Regions from separate parts of the Homo sapiens genome. Here region 1 is linked to region 2. Evidence: promoter capture Hi-C in 16 types of primary human blood cells and fetal thymus (Javierre and others, 2016). All regions are on one chromosome and are shown on one strand. The core of a region is centred on a gene start or on the middle of the fragment in contact, and the rest is flanking DNA. Distances in the headings are between cores, read along the strand shown. Region 1 holds the start of BMS1 (BMS1 ribosome biogenesis factor). Region 2 holds the start of ZNF25 (zinc finger protein 25).

Region 1 (5,947 bases), core at 1,257-3,756, 4.8 Mb before region 2:
CTAACTTCTGGCCCCATCCAAATAATTGCTGTTCAATAAAGATGTAACAAGATGACTTCAATACTATAGAGAGCGAAAATTAAACACTCCTTAAATCTGACTGTTTTAAGAGTGATTTTAATAGTTTTTTAAAAAACCAAAAGGTAAATAGCGAGGCAGTACATCATAGCAGATAAGAGCAGAGGCGCTGGAGTTACATTTAGCTCTCCTACTTACTGGTTATATGATTGGAGGTAACTTGTTTTCTTGATCTCAGTTTTCTTACCCATAAAATGAGGGCAAGAATGATTCCTACTCTGGTAAGGCTGCTGGAAGGATTTAGTTGAATAATGTTTAAAGTACACTGCTAGGCATATCACAAGGGCTCACTAAATAAAGCTATGTTAGTATTAAATATTGTAATTTTTGTATTTTATATTACAACTATGTAAAACATACCTGGGGGGAAAAAGCACACTTATCACCATAGAAACAGTTTAAAATTTAGGAACAAACAAAGTCTATAAATTCTTGTATCCTGGGCAATAAACACTAACCAGTATGCAGATGCTGGAGGCAAGGCAGCTTCTATGGGAAAAGCTTCTCACGTTTTAGTGAAAGCCACACACCATGAATCTCCATGTCCTTTGGAGCTGGACTAGACTCGTGAATCCAAATGTCACCTGTGAGAGGCTCCTACTATTTAAAAAAAGAATCAATGGAAGAATGACCAGACCGTAGCCTAACATACCTGTGAAAGGATCGAGCCATCCGCACAGCAGACTGAACTGCAAAAGCTTTGGGATTTCTCTTCCGGGCATCTTCTTCGTCTCCTAGCTGGAGATCCTGCAGAAGCCGCTTCTTTTTCTTTGCAGCTTTGGGTCCACTGTTTTTCTTTCTGTGTTTCTTCTGGTCCTTAGCCTCCATAGTGGCTATTTACCAATAACAAGTAACTCTAACCTACAAGGAAGAAGGTTGGGGTAAGGAGATGGGAGAAGCATTTTACAATCCAGGCAATACCCAGGGAAAAACAGTAAATTTCATTTATTTCTTTATGAAGAGATGATGTATTTGTTCACTGAACAAGGGTAGAAACTGCTTAACCATCCCCAATTTCATTTCTCTCTGTTATGCTATAAATTAGATGAGTTACCTCTCTTAAGATTACATTTTATGGTTAAGTTACTTTTTATTCATCTTAAGTGTCAACATCAGCAGTATCTATTTCTGCAAGGATAGAAATATACTATATCTGTACTTTTCAGCCATTTAGCCATTAGCCACATGTGGTTACTTACAATATACTTAGGGAAACTGAAAAAATGAGTTTTTAATTAATTTCATTCTAACTCCAAATAGTCACATGTGGCTACCATACTGGACAGCTCAGACCCAGGTATCAACTGGACTGATGAAGTGGTTTCCTAACTTAAACTAAAACTTAAATTTTAATAAAAAAATGTGAAACGTTTTTATGAACCTCCAATATGATCGCAGTATTACTTTTAGTACCTGTTGACTCTGTAAAACTCCTAAATTACAACTTATCTACATACATTTGAAAAATAGAAATAGCTGTACGTGTGAGATAGGACTGGTTCTAGATGACACCTGGAGACCCCATGAACTTACAGAGACCCTTCCAGTGATTTCTGAGTTACCTGGGAATCTGTGGCTAATAAATTGGCAATCACTGAATTAGTGAGTTATTTTAGGAAATCGGGCTGCATAAAATCTGACAGCTTGATTAAAAAAAAAAAGCGGAGCAGGATGCCATTTCATTCAATTAAGGTACTGTATTCATTCCGTTGAATAAATATTTGTGTCTGTCTACGATGTGCTAGGCACTGTGCCAGTAAGTGGATACAGCTATTATCTGACTTGCAGAGGAAATCCAAACTATTATCTTCCGCGCCACGCAATAAGGGCGACATTGGAAGGCTGCACAGGGTGCTACTGGAGCACGGAGGTGAGTCAGAGGCTTCCCACAGACACACACCAGCGGAAACAAAGTCTTTATGTATTACCATAATGTCAAGAACACTGGCCAGGAGTTAGGAGAGCTGGGCGCTAGGAACGCTTTGAAACCGAATAGCTGTGTGATTTCAGAGATTATGTTTCTTCTCTGCTATATTTTAGTTCAGCACTTGTACTAATGTTTCTCTCCCTGTCTTTCTTCTTGGTGGGAAAAGCACAATTTGGGGTCAACAGATCCAGCTCAGGTCTAAGTCTCCTACCGGGACCACGTCGCCAGGAAACGACGTCGCCCAGCCACCTTCCCTCCCCGTCTGGGCTCTCTGCAGGGATTCATCACGTCACTCACCCAACTACCCCAGGACACCTCCGCCAGATGAGAAATATGCCGCTCCTCGGGAGCAAAGATGACCCGGAGGACCGGGGGAGGACCTTCCCACACGCACGACTCGCGATCTTCCCAGTGCCCCAGAACCAGGGACCCCACCGCCGCCTACCCCAACCCGCAGCACCGAACCTGCTCGCAGCCGCGACTCCTCAGGTCAGCATGGACACCGCCGGAAACGGAAATTCACAGTCGCGCTGACTCGCCGGAGGGAAACAAGAAGGCAGAAAAAAGAGACCGGCATGGGGACGGCTTTCAGGGGAGAGCCTGAAGAAAGAGGGCTGAACAGCTGAGTGCGGACGCAGGCGCCGTCCGCGCAGTGCGTTCCACCGGGTCCAGGTCCTTCCAGATTCCTCTCCACCCCGCCCTCGGAATCCGCGGCCTCAACTTCCGCGGTGGGACTCCGGAGCAGCGTGCGCCGCGCTCGCCTGAGTTCTCGCCGAAGGCCAGGGCGGCTCTGCGGCCTGGCGCCGGTTAGTTAGTGTGGTGCAAAAGCCGGAAGGAGACACATTTGGTCCTGGCCTCCCGGCAGTCACCGTGCCAAGGACGAATGGACTATCGCTTGATTTGGAGTACACTTCCTCCTCTTTAAAGATTACAGATGAGGGGGATCTCGCGTTCTGGGGTGCCCTAAAGCCCTCTTTTGGCAGGGCGCAGTGGCTCACGCCTGTAATCCCTACACTTTGGGAAGCCGAGGAGGGAGGATTGCTTGAGCCCAGGAATTCAAGACAAGCCTGGGCAACATAGGGAGCCTACCTCTCTCTCTTAAAAAAAAAAAAAAAAAAAATTAGCCGGCATCGTGCCGGGCGCCTGTGGTGCTTGTGGTCCCAGCTACTCTGGAGGCTGAGGTGGGAGGATCGCTTGATCCCAGGAGGCGGAGTCTGCAGTGAACTGAGATGAGCCACTGGACTTCAGCCTGGGCAACAGAGCAAGACACTGTCTCTAAGAAAAATAAATAACATAAGGCCCTCTTTTGCCAGGACCAACAAACCGTGAGGGCAGGGACAAACTGACCCAGCCTAAACTGCCTCGCCCTCCCTAAACCCGGGAAAGGGGCTTTACCTGAGTGAACGTAGCATCTTGCCGTTTTCTTACTGCACAGCTTTACCTTCCCAGGGATCCGCCCATTGCCACCTGAGGAAATGCCTTGGAGTCCATCTAATCCCCAGCCCAGCTACTTGGGAGCCTACAGAGCGTACATTGTCAGAGGATGCATCTTCCTTTAGTCTTGGAGGGTTTCTTTTCAATATGATCCCGCTGGTGCATTCAAGGCTCAATTCTACACCAAAAACTAGGCCCACTCCTGTCACGAGAACCCCAGGCGTCAGGTCTTCTCACAGGCACCTTGTTCTTGCCCTCAGCAGCCCCCAGGTATTCACTCTGCATATTCTAGATACTGGGTGCTGGACTTGGGAGGCTACCCACGTGGCACATGCTTCCCTTATCCCTGAAGAGCTTAGAGTGTTGTAACTTCTTCACACTACACCTCTTACTTCTTGAAGATTTCAGTATCCAGGTAGATAATCCTTCCAACATCCTTTTGGTCTCATGAAGCCCACTCCTGTCCTCTGCCCTACCTCAGCTTCCCCCTCCCTCCATGATCAGACCTTAGACCTTGTCAGGTCCAAGGACTGCAACCCCCACAGTATCCCACTCTGACCAGGTCTATCTATCCTCCTATCTGTCCAGGTCACTCCCTATACTGCCCTGAAACAAAACTCCTGCAACCTTACCAGCACCTCCAATCAAGATCTTACTACTTGTTCACTGTTTCTTCCTTTATGACCCTCTCTAGTGAGCCAGCTTAAACTCAATGGCCAACCATTCTCATTGATCCCTTGCACACCTCCTCAACTCATGCACCTCCCTGTCATCTCCTATCTGCTTGGTAAGATGGGAGCCCTGGATAAACCCAGCTCTCCATCTATTCCATGCCACGACGATGCAACTAAACATGGCTGGAGGAAAACAGGACCATGCCAGCCGTCCTCACTTTAATCATTCTTTGCCTGGTCTATTCAATCTCCCATTGTTCCAAGTGAGTATTTCGCACTTCCTCCTCTCTGTTCAATCCTTCCCACTGCCTCTCCCTTCCTTGCCTCCTGCTTTGCTAAGAGAATAGAAGTGGTAAAAGTCTTCCACAGACTCCCACGTCCACCTCCACCCATCCGCCTCTTATTGCCTCCCTGTGACTGTGGATGAACAACTGCTAGGTCCACCCAAAGAATCCTGCACTGGACTGCTGGATCCCATCATCTCTTACTGCTCCAGGGTGTCACTCCAGCCAGCCTATCCTCTCTGCAACATCAGCAATATTTTCCTTTCTACTGGACTCTTCTCATCGTCACATAACATGCAGCTATTTCTCTCATCTTCAAAACAAAGAAATTACTCGACCCTATTTCCTATACCAGGACCTGCACCTTTTCTATGTTCCCCTTTGCAGCAAAACTTCACAAAAGAACAGTCAATACATACTCTGGCCCCTCTCCTATTCACTTTGATTCACTTGTCTCACAGGACTCCACCTGCAGCCCTGGATGCTCTTTCTCAGCTGCTTTTGCTGGTTCCCCTGCTCTCACCTGTTTAAATTAGAGTGAGGCCATAGGTTTCGGGCTTCAGTTTTCTTTTCTTCTGTGTCTATACTTATTCCCTGGATGATCTAATTCTGTCTCAGTTTTATATGCCATCTGTATCAGTTATTGATATGTTTTGGGTCTGTCCCTGCCCAAATTTCGTGTGGAATTGTAATCCCCAATGTTGGAGGTGGGGCCTGGTGGGAGGTGATTGGATCATGGGAGCAGAGTCTTCATGAAAGGTTTAGCACCATTCATCTAGTGCTGTTCTCATGATAGAGTTCTCACAAGATCTGGTTGTTAAAAAGTGTGTAGCACCTCCCCCCACCACCTTTTCCTGCTCCAGCCATGTAAGACATGCCTGCTTCTCCTTCACCTTCCACCATGATTGAAAGTTTCCTGAGGCCTCCGCAGAAGCTGTCATGCTTCCTGTACAGCCTGCAGAATCGTGAGCCAATTAAACCTCTTTTCTTATAAATTGCCTAGTCTCAGGTACTTCTTCATAGCAGTGAGAGAACGGACTAATACAGTTATCAATTTATTGCATCTCTGCTACAAACTCATTCTTCATTGCCTGCTCTGCAAAAATGGAACTGGGCCATTTAAATATTTTCCTCTGACATTATGTTAGGTTTTGTCAGTAGAGAGCAATGGAGAGACTTTGTGGGCGAAAGCAGTCTTTGTTCCTGGTTCTCCTATGCTCCCTGGCCTGGCTCCTGCAGGTGGGTGACTTCTCCAGAAACACAGTGGCCAGTGCCCAGCAGGTCCCACTCCCCTCACCAGCTCCAGGCAGTTTTGTTATAGAGTAACTCTTTTGAGACACCGCTCCTTTCCCCAGCACCTAAAGAAGTATTTCTAGTAAGTTCCAGTGGTATAGCACCAGTGACTCTCCTGACATGCAGAGGGCCATAGCTGGGTTCCTCTGATGAGGTGTAGGGGCAGTGCACTAGGAGGAGAGGACTCTCCTGGGCTCTCTACCTCAGCCCTAGGCTAGTGGTTGCTCCTCCTATACTTCCTACTAGTCTGTGCCTGG
Region 2 (6,426 bases), core at 2,131-4,630:
TATGTCCACACTGTTTTGTTTTCAATGAAAATTTTAACATATACTAAATTCTCATGTATATTTGGATCTTCTGTGCTTTTTCGAAACTAGCATCAAACTTAAATTACTTTTTATTTCATTGATTTATTTTTTGAGACACAGACTCACTGTGTTGCCAGGCTGGATTTCAGTGGCACGATCTTGGCCCACTGTAACCTCTGCCTCCCAGGTTCAAGTGATTCTCCTGCCTCAGCCTCCCGAGTAGCTGGGACTGCAGGCATGCACCACCATGCCCAGCTAATTTTTGTATTTTTAGTAGAGACAGGGTTTCACCATGTTGGCCAGGATATTCTCGATCTCTTGACCTCGTGATCCTCCCACCTCAGCCTCCCAAAGTGCTGGGATTACAGGGGTGAGCTACCACGCCCAGCCTTAAATTACTTTTTAAATTTGCATTTTCAAAAAAAGTTCTGTCAATGAAAAAAGTCAACTCTGTAAAATATTTAAAGAGATTTATTCTGAGCCAAATGTGAGTGATCATGGACCTTGACACAGCCCTCTGGATGTCATGAGAACATGCGCCCAAGGTGGTTGGGGGTGCAGGTTGATTTTATACATTGTAGGAGGGCATGAGACATCAATCAAATACATTTAAGGAATACATTGGTTTGTTCCAGGAAGGCAGGACAACTTGAAGGGTGGGGGTGCTTCCAGGCTACAGGTAAATTTAACCATTTTCTAGTTGACAATTGGTTGAATTTTTGTCTAAGGAGCTGGGATCAATAGAAAGGAAATGTTCAGGTTAAGATAAAAGGTTGTGGAGACCAAAGTTCTTTTGAAGTCTCATAGTGGCTATCCTTGAAAACAAGAGATGACAGATGTTTCCTATTCAGACCCTTTAAAAGGTGCTAGACTCTCAGTCAATCTATTCAGAATTAGAAGGGCCTGGAAGGAAAAGGCCTAGCTATGTTAGTTAATAGAGATTATTTAGAGATGCAAATTTTCCCACAAAGGACGGCTTGCAGGGCCATTTCAAAATGTGACAAACATGTTTTTGGGGTAAAATGTTTTTATTTTCTTCCTTGTCTCATAATGTTATGCCAGAGTCTGGTTGGAAAGTAAGTCACATTTTATGGGGTTAAATAAAACCCATCTGATATGAATTTATGGTTTGTAGGGCATAACTCCTCAGACCCCTTAGATAGAAATTTGGATAAGATAAAAAAAATCAGAGTTTAGTCTTCAGTTCCTTGCTATTCCCTGAGGTTGTTTCCTGAGGAAGTTAAAAATTATTTTATCAAGTAAAACAAAACTAAGCTCCCCGTTAAGATTTTTTAATTTAAATTTTGATTGAAATTGTGTTAAATTTTATAGTTTCTCTAAGGGTAAATATAAATATAAAAATTTGGGCTGGGCGCAGTGGCTCACGCCTGTAATCCCAGCACTTTGGGAGGCTGAGGCAGGTGGATCACGAAGTCAGGAGCTCAAGACCACCTTGGCCAAGATGGTGAAATCCCGTCTCTACTAAAAATACAAAAAAAATTAGCCAGGCGTGGTGGTGGGCGACTGTAATCCCAGCTACTCAGGAGGCTGAAGCAGAGAATTCCTTGAACCTGGGAGGCAGAGGTTGCAGTGAGCCGGGATCATGCCACTGCATCCCAGTCTGGGTGACAAAGCCAGACTCTGTCTCAAAGAAAAAAATAAAACAACTGAATTTTCCTTCTTGCAAAAAGGGAAAAAGACCTTTACTCCTCTCTTTTCTTACAGCATTTCCTTAAGAAAACTTGTAATTGTAAATCCCTTCTCTGTCCCTGTGAGATATAGCAAAACTTTTTAAAAAGTAAATAAGCTTCTTGCTAGTTTAACAACCCAGGAAGGTCTTTCTTAATGGCCTTGGGTCATGTCTTTGAAATGTAAGCATCAAGGAAGATTGCACCCCATCTCCCTGCCTCTGTGGTAAACTCCTAGGCTCCTGGCTACCCGCGGTTAACTACCTGCGTGTCATAGAGATACCAGAAACTTTACTTTTCATTTGCATAATGGCAATTAACTAACACTGATGGCTACCCTAATTATCAGGTGAATTTCAGATGAATTATGCATAGCAAATGTTGCTGTACAGTCATCTTACTTGAGGACAAGTTATTTTTACCTTGAGGAAATAGAATGCGTTGTACCAGACCGGCTAATACAAAAAATGATAGTTCTTCCTGTCTTCATAAACTCATTAGTGGGTTGCCTGTGACGCACATCGCAGTCTGGTTTAATGTTTATTCAATAATGTAACTGTTTTGTTCTTTTCTCCATCTGTGGAGAGAATTTTCTGGGTTGGCAAGAGGCTTTATTTTAAATTATTTCCTCAATACTTCCCATCCAGAAAGGTGGTGTGTGTGTGTGTATTATGTGCGCATATTTTTATATGTATATATATGTGTGTTTATACACATGACAATATATACGTTTTTTTCTAGATGATTCTACATGTTTTAATGTAATAAAGTTATTGACCAGGAAATATATAATTTGTTTTACATATACAGCCAAGTCCTCTCTCTGTATCCGCGGGGGATTAGTACCAGGACCTCCCTGGATTACTCAAATCCAGGGATGTTCAAGTCTCTGGTAGAAAATAACCTGATATTTGCATAACCTACACACCTCCTCCTGTATATTTTAAATTATGTCTAGATTAATTGTACACCTAACACAATGTAAATACTATGTAAATAGTTTTATTGTATTGTTTAGGGTATAATGACAAGGGGGAAACTTTGTACATGTTCAGTAAGATAGAATTTTTAAGTATTTTCATTCTGAGCTTAGTTGAATCCATAGATATGCACCCCCAGGATAAGGAGGGATGACTATATATATTCCTTAGTGAAATGATAGTCATGATACTCTATACCATTAGGTTAAAATTTGTGTAAATTCATGAGAAGGATGTTCACCTAACATTAAGCGCTTTTGCTTTTGGGAAGTGGTATACTCGTTTTCTGTTTTAGCTTATACATATTTTGTAGTTTATTACGTTTCGCGTACCGTTTGCACAATTGTGAAAGCTAGCATTCCTAAGAGGAAGCGGTTACAGGGCATTATCCTTCATTACTCCACGTACTCCTGTACCCACGGAGTTCAATCACTTTAACAAAACTGCCCATCAGTGTTCCTTGGAGCACCTCACGGTGGATTTCTGTCTTCAAGCCCAGACGTGCAGGGTGCAGCTCTCCGGCCATCACTGAGCAAGGACAGCGCCCTCTCCCGGAAACCCGACAGCAATCACTCAGGCCGCTGGAGGCGGCCGCGCCTCACGACGTCATCCAAGATGGAGTCGCAGCCGGGCCTTCTGGGAAGCGTAGTTCTGGAGTAGGGCTAGGGAAACGTTCTGCGCATGTGCAGTGTCTTCTTTCTGGCATTGGCGTTTTTTTGGTCTTACGCCCTAGGGTGGGGAGAGGACTCCGGTGCCTCCGGGTCTGGGCTGGGCCGCAAAGGGCGGGGCCTGGGCCCGGCGCGGGCCGGGAGCAGAGGCCGAGACCCTGCAGGTGTGTCGAAGGCTTTTGCGGGCGGGCAGGGCCTGGGAGGCGGGGTCTCGAGCCTGGAAGCCGCCTCCTGGCCCCGGAGCGGCCTCCGCGGAGGGCCCTGGGTGGGAGCCGCCTGGTGGGGAGGTTGGCTGGCTGCGCTGGCGCCCCTGCCCGGAATGGCGTTTGCGCGACCTGCTTGAGGGGCGGCCAGAGGAGGCCTGCGGTGCTGGGCAGTGGGCGCCCGGAGCAGCCGCATTGTGTGACGTGACCGGAGCCGCCATGTGAGGCGCGCTGGCCGCTGCAGACGCGGCGCTCCAAAGCCGCAGGGACGTGGGCTCTGGTCCAGCGTCTGTAGGTGGTCCCAGTGCGGCTCGACGCGCATCTGGCAAATGATGGGGGCCTTTGGGTACTGAATAGGGTAATAGATGTAAAGTATGATACAGGACTCAATAAAGGTGAGCTGCTTCTATTATTACAAAACATGCTGTTTTCATTATTGGCTCATTTAATCATCGTAACCATCCTTTCGACTTAACCATCTCTATTAAAATAAATGTGACTATTAAAGATTCAGAGAGAGAAATCCGTTTACCCACAGTATTAGCAGGTGGGATGTAAATCCTCACTTTTTCCTCTGAGTTAATGCGCCTTGCCACACTAAAATCCAGTCTTGACTTGTATTTAGCACAGCATTTGCCCCTTGAGCACCACCAGAACGTAGCTGTGTGGTGTACTTGAACCCAGTCTCAACCAGGTAGTGTTCTGTTTCCAAAAATGCTTGGGGAATCTTCAGAGCACTTGAGTCAAAAGGTGAATTATTTAAGGCCTTCCTGCATCCTCCAACCTTAGTCTCTTCTCAGAGGACTGTGAAACGTGTAAATTGAAACCACAATTTGAGCCCTCAATTTTGCATTTTACAGGAGAAGCTGGGAATCCCATCCAGCCCAGAGGCTAGTTTCTAAAGACAGGAAATGGGACAAAAAATTTTTTTAAAGATGAAAACTGCAGTTCATCAGTTCCTCCATTTTATGGTGGTGATCTTATAATGCCTCTCATTGGCTGATAACTGAGCTTAGGCATTTCGTAAGCACCATGCTAGCTGGAAGTGGTTTTTGCTGCTTATTTTAGTTTTTTTTTTTGGTACATAATGTACATATTTGTGGGGTACATGTGATATTTTGATATATGCATACAATGTGTCATGATCAAATCGGGGTAATTACAATATCCACCGCCTCATTTATCATTTCTTTGTGTTGCAAATATTCGAAATCTTCTAGCTATTCTGATAGCTAATAAATTATTGCTAACACTTGTAACCATACTGTGCTATTGAACACTAGGACTTAATCCTTCTACCTAACTGTATTTTTGTACCCATTAACCAACCTCTCTTCATTCCTCACTCCCTACTTCCCTTCGCAGCCTCTGGTAACCATCATTCTACATCGTATCTTCATGAGATCAACTATCTTAGCTCCTGCGTATGAGTGAGAACATGATATTTGTCTTTCTGTGCCTGGCTTATTTCATGTAACATAATGCCCTCCAGTTCCATCTTTGTTGCTGCAATGACAAAATTTCCTTCTTTTTATGTCTGAATAATATTCCATTGTGTATATATACCACAATTTTCATTATCTATTCATGCATTGATGGGTACTTAGGTGGATTCTGTATCTAGACTATTGTGAATAGTGCTGCGATAAAAATGGGAGTGCAGAGATATCTTCAATATACGGATTTCCCTTCTTTTGGATATATATATAGCAGTGAGATTGCTAGATCATATGGTAATTCTGTTTTCAATTTTTTGAGGAACCTCCATACTGTTTTCCACAGTGGCTGTACTAGTTTACATTGCCACCAAGGTTGTATGAGGGTTCTCCTTTCTCTATATCCCAGCATTTGTTATTTTTTTGCCTTTTTTATAATAGCTGTTTTAAGGGGTAAAATGATATCCCATTATGGTTTTGATTTGCATTTGTCTGATGATTAATGATGTTGAAGATTTTATCGTATACCTATTGGCCATTTGTATGTCTTCTATTGTGGAATGTCTGTTCAGATCATTTGCTCAATTTTTTTAAATCAAATTTTTTGTTTTCTGACTGTTGAGTTCCTTGTATATTCTGGTTATTAATTCCTTGTCAGATGGGTAGTTTGCAAATATTTTCTCCTATTCTTTGGGTGTCTTTTCACTGTTATTGCTTACTTTGCTGTGCTGAAACTTTTTCGTTTGATGTAATCCCATTCATCTATTTTTGCCTTTGTTGCTTGTGCTTTTGAGGTCTTACCAAAAAATTTTTGCCGAGAACAATGTTCTGAAGCATTTCCAAATGTTTTCTTCAAGTAGTTTCATAGTTTCAGGTCATACATTTAACTCTTTAATCCACTATCATTTGATTTTTGCATATGATGAGAGACAGGGGTTTAGTTTCATTCTTCTGCGTATGGATATCCAGTTTTCTCAGCACCATTTATTGAAGAAACTGTCATTTCTCCAATGTATGTTCTTAGTGCCTTTGTCAAAAATGAAATTGGCTATAAATGCATGTATTTATTTCTCAATTCTCTTTTTCATTGATCTATGTGTCTCTTTTTATGCCAGTAACCTACTGTTTTGTTTACTATAGCTTTATAGTATATTTTGAAGTCTGGTAGTACAATGCCTCCACCTTTGTTCTTTTTGCACAAAATTGCTTTGGCTACTCGGGGTCTTTGGTGGTTCCATATAAATTTTAGGATTTTTTTTCCTATTTCTGTGAAGAATGTCATTGGTATTTGGATATGGATTGCATTTAATCTGTAGACTGCTTTTAGTACTATGGACATTTTAACAATATTAATTCTGCCAGTCCATGAGCATGGGATATCTTTCCATTTTAATATCATTCATCAGTGTTTTATACTCTTTTTTTTTTTT

The links. The method cuts DNA at HindIII sites, captures the fragments that hold promoters and counts their contacts. A CHiCAGO score of 5 or more calls a contact.
Region 1: a contact is called between the fragment with the promoter of BMS1 here and the fragment with the promoter of ZNF25 in region 2, in 1 of 17 cell types (non-activated CD4 T cells). The highest score is 6.4, in non-activated CD4 T cells.

Annotation. Positions count from the first base shown.
Region 1 is chr10:42,779,354-42,785,300 of GRCh38, reverse strand. It overlaps BMS1 (BMS1 ribosome biogenesis factor), which reads right to left and starts at 2,506. Exons shown (of 23, transcript NM_014753.4): 1 at 2,471-2,506; 2 at 731-939. The coding sequence starts at 906. RefSeq lists an enhancer at 2,326-2,675. The HindIII fragment of the contact is 6,696 bases long and covers 779-5,947 here.
Region 2 is chr10:37,973,601-37,980,026 of GRCh38, reverse strand. It overlaps ZNF25 (zinc finger protein 25), which reads left to right and starts at 3,380. Exons shown (of 6, transcript NM_145011.4): 1 at 3,380-3,521. It overlaps ZNF25-DT (ZNF25 divergent transcript), which reads right to left and starts at 3,272. Exons shown (of 6, transcript XR_930830.4): 1 at 3,022-3,272. RefSeq lists enhancers at 3,137-3,366, 4,407-4,496 and a silencer at 3,407-3,816. The HindIII fragment of the contact is 11,670 bases long and covers 1,831-6,426 here.